Linked DNA regions of Homo sapiens: region 1 is linked to region 2. Evidence: promoter capture Hi-C in human tissues and cell types (Jung and others, 2019). All regions are on one chromosome and are shown on one strand. The core of a region is centred on a gene start or on the middle of the fragment in contact, and the rest is flanking DNA. Distances in the headings are between cores, read along the strand shown.

Region 1 (6,789 bases), core at 988-3,487, 1.4 Mb before region 2:
AATCACTTGAACCTGGGAGGCAGAGGGTGCAGTGAGCCAAGATCACACCATTGCACTCCAGCCTGGGCAACAAGAGCAAAACGCCATCTCAAAAAAAAAAAAAAAAAAATTGAAACATTAGCCAGGCAGGGTGATACGTGCCTGTAGTTTCAGCTGCTTGGGAGGCTGAGGTAGGTGGATCACTTGAGCCCAGGAGTTTAAGGCTGCAGTGGGTTATGATCATCCCACCACACTTCAGCCTTGGGTGACAGGAAAAGACCCTGTCTCCAAAACAAAACAAAAAAAAATCGGAGACCACTACTTTAGAATTTAGAATCAGAAACATGCTTCTGCCACTTGCTCCTTCCTACTTAAGAAGTGGCATTCAGAGGCTAGGAGGCTCTGGATACTGGGATAACTGGAGCACTGTGATAATCCAGACAAAAGTTATGGTGTGTTTTGATAGAAAAATACAAAAATAAGAGTTCAAGGGGAATAAAAAGAAAGATTCAGTGTAAGTTATGAATATAAGCATGTAAAGTAAGAATAGGAATTAAAACAGTTTTACATTTCAGGTTATGTAACTATTTACTCAGAAAATGTTTTTTTAAAATTACCCATTTTCCAGTAGAAAACACTGGTATATGACATCCCTCAACAGTCCACCCCTGCTTCCAGTTTCCTTTATGAAATAGAACTTACTGTGATGAAAAGTGATGATTAACATAAGTGGTTACAACTATACTAGGAATAATAGTGACAGAGAAATACAAACTGTAATTGCTTTTGTTTTTCAAGGAAAAAGAGTCATTTTTCAGTGATTTTCAAGCATTTTGGTTTGTGTCACCTTTAAATTCATAAAACATTATTGACAATCCTAGCGTTTTTCTTGTATGTGTGTTGATATTTACCATATTAAAAATTAAGACCAAGATTTCAAAATGACCCATTTTATGGGGTGGGGAGGTCCCCACATCTTGGATTCCAATTCCTACCTCTGCAGAGAACTGCAGAGTGGCTGAGTGCATGGCACATTCAGCTTGCAAATGGCTTGCCTAACCCATCGGGTGCGCCTCGGCCTCCAGTTCATCTCCCTTTCCGGTCGTTTGACTTGTTTGTTGAACAGGGTATTTTTATACTGAATTCTCCCTCGGACTCTGTAGGGAAAATCAATCATGGATTGTGTGGCCGTGGAACATACACGGCCCGTGGATGAGCTGGCTCATGGCTCGTCACAGAGTCAGCTGTCTACACGGCGTGATTGAAGCTTTACGTGGGAGTGCACTCGGACCCCAGGTATTTCCTCCTTTTGTGTGTCATGGCACCCAGCTCCTCTCCAGCCTGCTGTTTCCTGTGCTGACTTACCAAGTCTGAATCTCAGGCTGGGTTCCCTCAATGAGGTGTGCTCCTCTGTGACCTCCCCACTCCCTATAGCCGCTCCACCTTCCTCTCTCAAATTCAAGGGCTGCCCAAGCTGCAAGCTCATTGAGCAGTTCCAGAAAAGCTTAAATGGGAAGAACAATGACAGGGAGGCAAAACACCTGCTTGCAACTCAAACATGTGTTTCCTTTAGAGCATCTGAATACATGGAGCTCTGGTCACTGCCTGGGCCTGGAGACGGGGCAGGGAATCAGACGGGGAATACAGTAACAAACTCGAGTCACTGTGCATTTGAAGCAAGGCGTTGATTCAACACGCCAAGATGACGGGTGGTCCCCAGATCCTGGATCCAGAGGCACTAACCACGCCTACTATACAGTGAGATACAAAGAAGTGTCCTGCATGCTCCCTTGGCCATCGGGGCCAGACCAAGTGTTTGGATTTTGTGCTGCTGATTCTGAAACTCCACCTCCAATCCTCGAGAAGTCTCCCTGCAGGTCTACTGTTTGGCTATGATCGATGGTCCCCAGGTGTGGTGTTATTTCATTTCCAGTTTATCACGTTAATATTTTACACATTATGGGGAATCCTGGAATGAGTGCTGTTCTACGCACACAGGAAAGCCACAGTTAATCTGTAGAAGGTGTTCCAGCAGCTTATGGAGCTTTGGTTTCTAAAAGACTAAAGTGCTCAGTGGACTGCAGATACCTGAAACAATGAGGATTTTTTTTCTTGTGTTTTGATTTTTGCTTTCAGGTGGGAACCCATTTTTCAAAAGGACTAATTTGAGTTGTGGTTGGATGCAAACCTTGGCTGGAATCTCCCCCACTGATCCTGTCGTTCTCTTGTGATTGCTAACAGTTCCACGCGGCACAAATAAGCCAAGGATATTGCAGGCGCGATCTGAAAGCCGGAGCAACATGGGAAGAGCAAAAAGGTCATTTTTCTTCCCTGCCACCCCCTCCATTTTCCCTGGATGCTCCTGTGGACTGAAAGCATAAATTGCACTGCTCAGCCCCTGATGGATCACTGCACAGCTGGGGCTGGGAGGCTGGAGGGAGGGTCCCCATAATCTCCTTTTCCCAGGCTCTGTTCCAATTTCATCTTCGTCCCATTTTACAAACTCTTCCCTTTCTTCCTAATCAGAGTTTCGTCTGGAATGGGTGCCGGTGCTTTTCCACTGCAAAAGCAACCCAGGCAATTTGCTTTAGAGGTTGGAGCCAAGGTCTGAGGAATTGAGACAAGAAAACATCCCAGGGTAGTGTGGAAGTGCAGCCTTCTCTATTCCCAGCCTGTTGCAGACAGCCGTGCCATCTCCTACACCCACAGGTGATTTTTTGTTTTGTTTTTGTTTTTTGTTTTCTGTTTTTGAGACAGATTCTAGCTCTGTCACCCAGGCTGGAGTGCAGGGGCGCCGTCTCTGCTCACTGCAACCTCCTCCTCCTGGGTTCAAGTGATTCTTCTGCTTCAGCCTCCCGAGTAGCTGGGATTACAGGTGTGCACCACCATGCCTGGCTAATTTTTGTATTTTTAGTAGAGACGGGGTTTCACCAAGTTGGCCAGGCTGGTCTGGAACTCCTGACCTCAGGTGATCCGCCCACCTCAGCCTCCCAAAGTGCTGGGATTCCAGGCGTGAGCCACCTTGCCTGGGCAGAGGTGTGTTCATTGTTGTTGTTGCTTCTATCAGGTGGCGAACGCCAGGCATTACCATGACTTGGGCAGTACACCTCACTCTGAGCGACAGTGCCCTGGAAAGAACATGAGCCTCTAGAGTCCATTGAACTCAGCTTTGAGTTCCAGGTTCTGTCACTTATTAGTGGACAAGTCATTAGGCTTCCCTAAGTCTTCCATTTCTGATTCTTAAAATGAGGATAAAAGGACCCACCTCGCAGGGTTGCTGGAAGGGTTGTGTTAAGGGTGCCAGGCATATACTAGGTTTCCAAACAATGAGCTAGTCCTATGTCCAGACTCTTAAACTATGATGGGTTAAAAATAGTAAATCATATTTTTTTTCATTAAAAACAATTTTTTTTTAGAGATAGGGTCACCCAGGCTGGAGTGCAGTGGTGTGATCATGGCTCATTGCAGCCTCGTACACAAGCAATCCTCCCACCTCAGCCTCCCAAGTAGCTGGGACTACAGGCATGTGCCACCATGCCAGGCTTAATTTGTTTTATTTTTATTTCTTGTACATTTGGGGTCTCACTGTGTTGCTCAGGCTGGTCTAGAACTCCTGGCCTCAAGCTATCCTACCACCTCGGCCTCCCAAAGTGCTGAGACTATAGGGGTGAACCACTGTGCCCAGCCTGAAAGAATGTTTTTGATGAAATGTATGATTGAAAGATTGACTTCGACCCTCCCTAGTCTTTAAATGTCTTTGTGCAGTATTTTACTGTGTTTAGGTTCTGCACACATTTTAGAACCTGAAAATTCCTATGCAATTATCTAACCTTCCTGTATGCAGGAGGAAACTGAGGCATGGGATGCTTCAGGGTCGGCCGTGTCTCTGCCCACTGGCCTTGCCCCCTGCTATCTATTCTGCCTTCTGCCTCTGCTCTCCCCAGCACTCACACTGCTGGCCGTGTATCACTCGACCCAGGGACTCCACGTTCTAACTGCTGCAAATTAGTAACCCACAGAATGCCACACCTAAGTATATCAATGTGCTCCATGTGTAATTACTAAGAATGTCTCATTTTCTGACCAGGTTAGAGAAGAGGGTCACCGCTATTTTGTTTTGTTTCCTTACGGCTGTAGTAGTGTGCTACTCCTGCCTTGGCCTCCCAAAGCTCTGGAATGACAGACTTGAGGCACTGTGCCCAGTCAGATTTTTTCTTTTAGTTGGAGGGCAAATGAGAAGGAGAAACTGCAAGGCTGGGGGCGGTGGCTCACACCTGTAACCCCAACACTTTGGGAGTCTGAGGCAGGAGGATCACTTCAGCCCAGGAGTTCAAGACCAACCTGGGCAACAGTTCTACAAAAAGTTTAAAGATGAGCCGAGTGTGGTGGCGTGCACCTGTAGTCCCAGCTGCTTGGTGAGGGGCTGAGGAGGGAGAATCACTTGAGCCCAGGAAGCTGAGGCTGCCGTGAGATGAGATTGCACCACTACACTCCAGCCTAGGTGACAGAGCAAGATCCTGTCTCAAAATAAGAAATAAAAATAAAGAAAAGGAAGAGGAGCTGATACACTGTTGGGTTAATAATTCCAGGGCTTAGACAAGGCTAGTTTGAGTATTTGATGAATAGATCTCCCCATCGGCAGAATCCTCGATATCTAAGAAGCGCCCCATGTTTTGTGAACATGGTCCTTCCTGGGGCTCCTGTGTTTGCCCAGTGGAGAGACAAAGGTCCACATATGACAAATTAACAAATAAAATTCAAACTTCCTTGGCTACTGTGATAGCCCTTGCCAACGTTTCAAGCCACAAAATGAGAAACACACACACACACACACACACACACACACCCCTTGCCAAGGCTTATAAAAACTGTGCAGTAGTTACATAAAGTTTCCAAGCAAGAAGTTACTTCATAAACCAAATTATTTGTGAGGCTTAAAAAAAAAACAACGAGAAAATATGTTTCTTGCTTGAACCAATTCCCATGTTAAACGTCTGCCTTCATCACTCATTTTTATTACCAGTCTAAACACAGACTGTTTCAATGGAGGCCATTTACAGCATACAATAAAACGGATTCATTACTCATTTTCCTCTTATTATCTTTCAATTGCTGTAGCTCTCAGCACTGCATACAGTGGACATTAGGTCCAAGTAGACAGTGCATTACACGATCTCAATTGATGGCAATCCCTAACACCCTTAAACACACAGACACGGGAGACGCTCTGTCCCTGATCCGTTCCCTTGCGCCGCTTTTTATCACACTCATTCTATTTTCGTCTCATTAAACTTCCTATTTTTCACAGGAAGTTCTCCCTCTCCTAGTCGATACCACGTCTCCCTCTCAGTCTGCACCCATCCCAGGCCCCATGCAGTTTGCTTAAGCCATTTCTTCTTAAAAAAAATGCACACACAAACACCCACCACATTACTCACGTAATTAAGTATAATTTCTCTAGCAACAAGCTGACAACAGCTATTAAAAGTGGAGTTGGAGATTGAATCTTGGCGCGGCCTGCAAGTGATAGTGTTCTGGATGACAGGCAATGGTTATGTCATGATCCGAACAGAGATAAGAGCCCCAAACGATGTGCTGGCTTTTATTGCATGGATTAGTACCTTCTCCCCAAACCACCTCCACCTTCCTCTGGGCTGATTCCGCTACATTCATCCGGGTGCTATTTTGATACTTCAATGTAGCTTGCTAAAATTGGAATTAATTAGCTGGGCTTGGAAGCGCAGGCCCATAATCCCAGCTACTCAGGAGGCTGAGGCAGAAGAATCACTTGAACCTGGGAGGCAGAGTTTGCAGTGAGCAGAGATCACACCACTGCATGCCAGCCGGGGTGACAGGGCAAGACTCGGTCTCAAAAAAATAATAATAATAATTTAAAATTGGAATTAATGAGGTTCAGAAAAATAGGGTCTGGAAAAAAAAGCCCAGTGGCTTTGGTAATTCGAGTTAATGCCCCTTTACTTATAGATAAAAATATTTGTTTTTATTGATAATAAACATATGGCAGCTTTCTCGATGAAGCTCTAAGTCATTTATAATCTCATGGTTCCTGTGGGCTTATTCCTGATCTAGTTAACTAAAACATAGGAGTCTTACACAAACCTGGGTTGGATTTGAATTCTCATCTACCACTCAGCATCTATGGGACCCTGAATAAGTCCTGCCACCTCTCTGTGCTTCTTTTCCCGGTCGGTCAAATGAGTATAATGATACCCCGTCTTTCAGGTTGTTGAGAGGAACAAAAAAAGATAATGTCCATAAAACACATACTTCAGTGCCCAGACTTTATTAGGTGCTTCATAAATATTAGCTATTGTGTCTGTTCACACTAGTTATTAGGTGGCTATGATGTGACAAGAGCTTTCATGTGGTGTCTTTGTGAATTCTCACAATACTGTATGGTTGGGATTATTATCCCCATGTTCCAAATGGGAAAACTCTTTAAGAAGTAAGTTTCTAGTATGTGTCCGCTGCAGATCTGTCCCGTCTCCAATGCCTTGGATCTTCTCAACGCAGTACTGTGCATGCAGGAACCCGAACCTTGGGTTTGGAAGGCATTGAAGTCTATGCTGTAAATAGCTGGTCCTACCCCAAGTTTTGGTCTGTGGTGGCCACGTCCAGGCATTCCTGAGCCACCTCCCAGTCAATGGTGGAGCAGGACTGTCCCAGAGATAGTCTGGAGCAATGGAAGGGGCTCATCCAAGTGGGAACTATGTATTAATGGTTAAAGCAATAGGAGACTTGGTGCAAGCTTCCAAGGGAAGTACTCTGAGGTCTTGGGTGATTTATAAT
Region 2 (5,863 bases), core at 3,041-5,540:
CATCCAGGCATTACCAACTGCATTTTCCCTTTGCCTGATATTCTGGCATCAAGCCTCCTTGCCATTCCAATTTATTTCACCTTCCTCCAGTCCTTATGATTTCCTTCCTGAAGAGTATTTCAGCATCTCTATGCCTCAATCTTCCCTGCACACCACACCAGCTCGGCCTCATCATCACATCACTTGGCTATGTCCCGCCTGGGTTAGACAGCTTCAGTGGCTGAAGTCCATAGATCTTATTCTGTTTTTCGAGGTCCACCTGACTCTGAATCCAGCTGATATTTCTGCCCTTAGCTTCTACCCCTCTCTACTTCTGGTTAACTATGGACCACACTCTGCTTCCTCAGGAACCACCTACCAAGGCCGTATCCATCCTTCAAGGACAATACGTGGGCCTTTCCTGATCACATCAGCTCAACAACTTTTCCCTCCTACATTTCAATTGCTCTTCTTACCATAATCATTAGTATTCACCCCACTGTACGTCTAGAAAGAAAGTGGTCTTAAACCTAAGGGAAGGCAGTCTAGGTCAGAAATTTGTTGTCCGCTGTTCTGAGCAGTTTCTTCTAGGAAGTACCAAACATTTCTGATAATAGAATTGAGCAATTTCCTGATGAAGTGAGACTCAGCTTGCACTGTTGACCGGCTGTCCCTGGATGAACCTAGTTACTTTTAACCAAATGTTCCTTTCTTGAACTTGTTCCTTTCTTGAACTTAATCTACCAATGTTATCTAGATAACTTTCCTCAAAAAAAAAAAAAAAAAAAAAAACCCTCTACTAGGAAAGAAATCTTTGAACCGGACTTATTGGAAATTACCTCCTTGCAGCAGGTTTGAAACAAAACTTTGAATTTGCCTCACAAAGAATTTGTCTGAAACTGCTTTAGTATATGCTAGTTATATTTGTATGCACATGTGGCTTCATACATAGTGGTTGGACACCCATATGTGTTATGCACTTTGTTAGGTGACGTAAGTTCACAGATAAACTGGACATAGGGCTATCCTCTAGAGGCCCACAGTTTGACACCTTAACCTGAGATCCTTGGACCTTTGAAGTTCAGAGTGCCCACAACCGCTGGGTGTGGTGGCTCACACTTGTAATCCCAGTACTCTGCAGGGCTGAGGTGGGAGGATCGCTTGAGTCCAGGAGTCTGAGACCAGCCTGGGCAACATGACAAAACCCCATCTCTACAAAAATTACAAAAAAAATTAGCCAGGCCTGGTGGTGCATGCCTGTGGTCCCAGTTACTTGAGAGGCTGAAGTGGGAGGATCACTTGAGTCAAGGAGGTAGAGGCTGCAGTGAGTTGAGATGGCAACACTGCACTCCAGAAACCCCATCTCAAACAAAACAGAGCAAAACAAAACAAACTGCCCATAATGCTCCTGAAACTTCCTACGGATTTATCCAGAGTATGTGCTGATGTGCATTTTTTCCAAGGAGGGAAACCAAAGGTTCTATCAAATTAAGAAAAGAGTTTTTACCATTGTGGAAGACAGTATGGCGATTCCTCAAGCATCTAAAATCAGAAATACCATTTGACCCAGCAATCCTATTACTGGGTATATACCCAAAGGAATAGAAATCATTCTACTATAAAGTCACATGCACCCGTATGTTTATTGCAGCACTATTTACAATAGCAAAATGGAACCAACTGAAATGCCCATCAATGAGACTAGATAAAGAAAATGTGATACATATACACCATGGAATACTATGCAGCCATGAAAAGGAATGAGATCATGTCCTTGGCAGGGACATGGATGAAGCTGGAAGCCATTATCCTCAGCAAACTAACACAGGAACAGAAAACCAAATGCCGCATGTTCTCACTCATAAGTGGGAGTTGAACAATGACAGCACATAGACATAGGGAGGGGAACATCACACGCCAGGGCCTGCTGCAGGGTGGGGGGTGGGGTGTGAGGGGAGGGAACTTAGAAGACAGGTGAGTAGGTGCAGCAGACCACCATGGCGCACTTATACCTATGTAACCAACCTGCACGTTCTACACATGTATCCTGGAACTTAAATTAAAAACAAAAAAGAGTTTTTAATCCAAAAAAGATTAACAGCAACTAGAAGAAAGAAAGAGATATAAACAGTGAATTGCAATGCAGCACGGCAGGTGTTATGATGGAGTAGAAAGGACTGGAAAAGGCCTCCTGGAGGAAGGGACACTCAAGTGTCTTTCCATTTCACCTGTAAACTCATTAAGGGCAAAAGCTTTGCTACAGCTTCAGTATGAGATCCTGGGCAATCCGTGACAAAATGGGTCTGCTTTTGCACCCCCAACTTCTTCTCACATCCCTGCATCGTGCCATGCAGCATCAACTGGAAACCTCAGCATCAGCAAACGACGACAGAGCGTTCATCCGTAAGGTGAACCAGAAAAGCCAGTTCAATGACTTGTTTAACCATGGTCCATCTCAGAACCAAGAGTTGGGCCTCTTATTTACCAGAAAAATTGTGGGGGCTTTGTGATATGGCTTTAAAAAAATCTTGTAATTGCCAGGCGTGGTGGCTCACACCTGTAATCCCAGCACTTTGGGAGGCCGAGGTGGGTGAATCGCCTAAGGTCAGGAGTTCGAGACCAGCCTGACCAACATGGTGAAACTCCGTCTCTACTAAAAATACAAAAACTAGCTGGATGTGGTGACGCGTGCCTGTAATCCTAGCTACTCAGGAGGCTGACGCAGGAGAATCACTTGAACCTGGGAGGCAGAGGTTGCAGTGAGCCAAGATTGTGCCATTGCGCTCCAAAAAAAAAAAAAAAAAGACATTAACATAAATTTAAATATTTTATAATGACAATCCACATTAACTACTTAAAGCATAAGCTATTTTCCAGGAGAGGCAGCAAGTGCATTCTACTCCCATGCCCAAGAAGAAAGGAGCGTGACTTTGGTGGGAGTACTAGGAGTTTCTACTGGAGCACTTGCCCGCAGAGTGAGAAACGTTCCTAGAGAGGAAGTTATACCTGCTGTGGAATTTAAGAGAATCTTGTCATATTTTGACAAGTTTTTTGAGATGGAAGTCTCACTCTGTCGCCCAGGCTGGAGTGCAGTGGCGCAATCTCAGCTCACTGCAGCCTGCACCTCCTCGGTTCCAGCTATTCTCTTGTCTCAGCCTCCTGAGTAACTGGGATTACAGGCGCCCGCCACTACGCCTGGCTAATTTTTGTATTTTTAGTAGAAATGGGGTTTTACCATGTTGGCCAGACTGGTCTCAAACTCCCGACCTCAGGTGATCTGCCTGCCTCAGCCTCCCAAAGTGCTGGAATTACAGGCGTGTGCCACTGCGCCTGGCTAATTTTTTTTTTTTTTTTTTTTTTTTTTTTTTTTTAGTAGAGACGGTGGTTTCACCATGTCATCCAGGCTGGTCTCAAACTCCTGACCTCAGGTGATCCACCCACCTTGGTCTACCAAAGTGCTCGGATTACAGGCATGAGCCACCAGGCCCAGTCAACGTGATGTGTTTTGGAACCCTGAATTCCTTGGCTTGCCCGGAGGGTTTTCTTTTTGTTAATATCTTTGCTTGCTTTCTAGTATTTAAAAAATTGTGTTTTGCTCTAACTATGCAATGGCTTTAAGTCTTAGACAAATTTCCAGGGAGCAAAACACACTCAACCATTTCATAATAATCAGAAGAGAGCTCTGATCAATAAATAAGCAAGACTGAATTTTACAAAATAATCCAAAGTTTAAAACCAAAGCCCACTTTTTGCATGATCCTTTAAGAGAAAGAAATCTGGAAGCAAAACACCTTATAAAATGACAATGCACTTTCAGGAGCCCAGGGCACTGTGGTGAAATGATGATGGCTAGTACAGGTTATAAGCCTTGGGGAATTATTTATGAATTCTCAGGATCCTTCAGTTCGCCGCATCCTTCTCCATTATTTGAATATTGGAGGCTGCCTGACCAGAATCTTGTCAGGACTTTGCTCCTTCATCCCAGGTGGTCCCGGCTGACTCCTGAGGACGTTACAGCCCTGAGGGGAGGACTCAGCTTATGAAGTGCTGGGTGAGACCACTGCCAAGAAGTGCTTGCTCACCCTACCTTCAACGGCAGGGGAATCTCCCTCTCCTTTTATGGGCGTAGCTGAAGAAAGGATTCATAAATGAAGTTCAATCCTTCTCATCAACCCCAGCCCACACCTCCAGCAATTGAACTTGAAAAAAAAAACCTGGTTTGAAAAATTACCGCAAACTATATTGTCATCAAAAAAAAAAAAAAAAAAAAACACTTCCTATATTTGAGATGAGAGAAGAGAGTGCTAGGCAGTTTCCTGGCTGAACACGCCAGCCCAATACTTAAAGAGAGCAACTCCTGACTCCGATAGAGACTGGATGGACCCACAAGGGTGACAGCCCAGGCGGACCGATCTTCCCATCCCACATCCTCCGGCGCGATGCCAAAAAGAGGCTGACGGCAACTGGGCCTTCTGCAGAGAAAGACCTCCGCTTCACTGCCCCGGCTGGTCCCAAGGGTCAGGAAGATGGATTCATACCTGCTGATGTGGGGACTGCTCACGTTCATCATGGTGCCTGGCTGCCAGGCAGGTAAGGGCCTGTGGGTGCCCCCGGAATTCCGGGAAGGCTGATGGGCATCCCTCTTCCCAGCCACAGAACCAGAGGGAGTCCCCAGGTAGATGGTTCCAAGAAGGGAGTTGAATCTTGGGTTCCACCTCTTGCCTGTGACCCACGGGGACCCCAGTTTATGCCTCACTGTTCCTTGGTCTGTCAAGAGAGCCTGAAATAGCATTAGGTTCTCCTGTCCTTCTCAGTCCTTGACAATTAATTCTGGGAAGAATAGTGTGGCATGATATTTGGGATATTTGGATGTTAACAGGGTCCCGATGAGCAGGTTTCTCAAGAAATTATCTTTTATTCTTCAATGAATTTCCTTTTATTCTCTGCACTCCCACCCCCCAACTAAGAAGCTATCAGGAAGCTCTTTAAGTTCAGGTTAATTTGCTGGAGACATGAGTACTCATATATCAAACACTGGGAGAATTTAAGATCTCAGAAAAGTTTAGCTTCAAGGATGTATACACTGCTTTTACGTCTTAGGAAATAACACCTAGGAATTTCCTTACAAGTGCAACTTTACAGAAATTTTTAAAAATATGCATACTCACTTTTAGAACATTACTACTTCTCATAATCCTATGTATATACATGATATGTATATGTATACGTGTTTATATATGCAAATTTTAAATTTCATTCCTTGTTTCAAATGGATTTTCTCGAAGATTTTTTTTTTTTGACACTGTCTCTGTCAGCCAGACTGGAGTGCAGTGGCGCGATATTGGCTTACTGCAACCTTCGCCTCCCAGGCTTAGCGATCCTCCCACCTCAGCCTCCTGAGTAGCTGGGACTACAGGCATACGCCACCACACCTGGTTAATTTATTTTTTTGTAGAGATGGGGTTTTTGCCATGTTGCCCAAGCTGGTCTTGAACTCCTGGGCTCAAGTGATCCACTCACCCTGGCCTCCCATACTGCTGGTACTACAGGCATGAACCACCGTGCCTGGCCAATATTTTTTTTTAAAGAAATAAAAAACCACCAACTTCTACCTCAAACCACTCTTCCTAATTGAGTGTGAATTTTCTAATAATGTCTTCCCTTTGCTTACTCAGGAAGACAGATAAGAAAGTTTATAGTGTTTTTTGAAAGTCTATAATGGCAACAAGTAGAATGCTAACTGGCTGTAGAAAGAATTTATTAAGAAATGAAACATAATGATGCATTTCAGGAGTCTGCTTGCTTGTTTAGGGGAAGTGCCCAGTCATGCTGGGCTGTGTACTGGCCCAGATGTAGGAGTGTCTTTAAAGAGGGCATTTTATTT

Evidence for each region. Contacts are between HindIII fragments. The study calls those that stand out against the background at their distance.
Region 1: a contact is called between a fragment that was not itself captured here and the fragment with the promoter of IL2RA in region 2, in 1 of the 25 tissues and cell types used here (mesenchymal stem cells).

The regions. Positions count from the first base shown.
Region 1 is chr10:7,437,096-7,443,884 of GRCh38, reverse strand. It overlaps LOC124902373 (a long non-coding RNA gene), which reads left to right and starts at 453. Exons shown (of 2, transcript XR_007062050.1): 1 at 453-2,296; 2 at 2,506-3,391. The HindIII fragment of the contact is 3,759 bases long and covers 358-4,116 here.
Region 2 is chr10:6,060,794-6,066,656 of GRCh38, reverse strand. It overlaps IL2RA (interleukin 2 receptor subunit alpha), which reads left to right and starts at 4,290. Exons shown (of 8, transcript NM_000417.3): 1 at 4,290-4,569. The coding sequence starts at 4,506. RefSeq lists a silencer at 705-905, a cis regulatory region at 3,907-4,537 and an enhancer at 4,530-4,579. The HindIII fragment of the contact is 4,925 bases long and covers 1,000-5,863 here.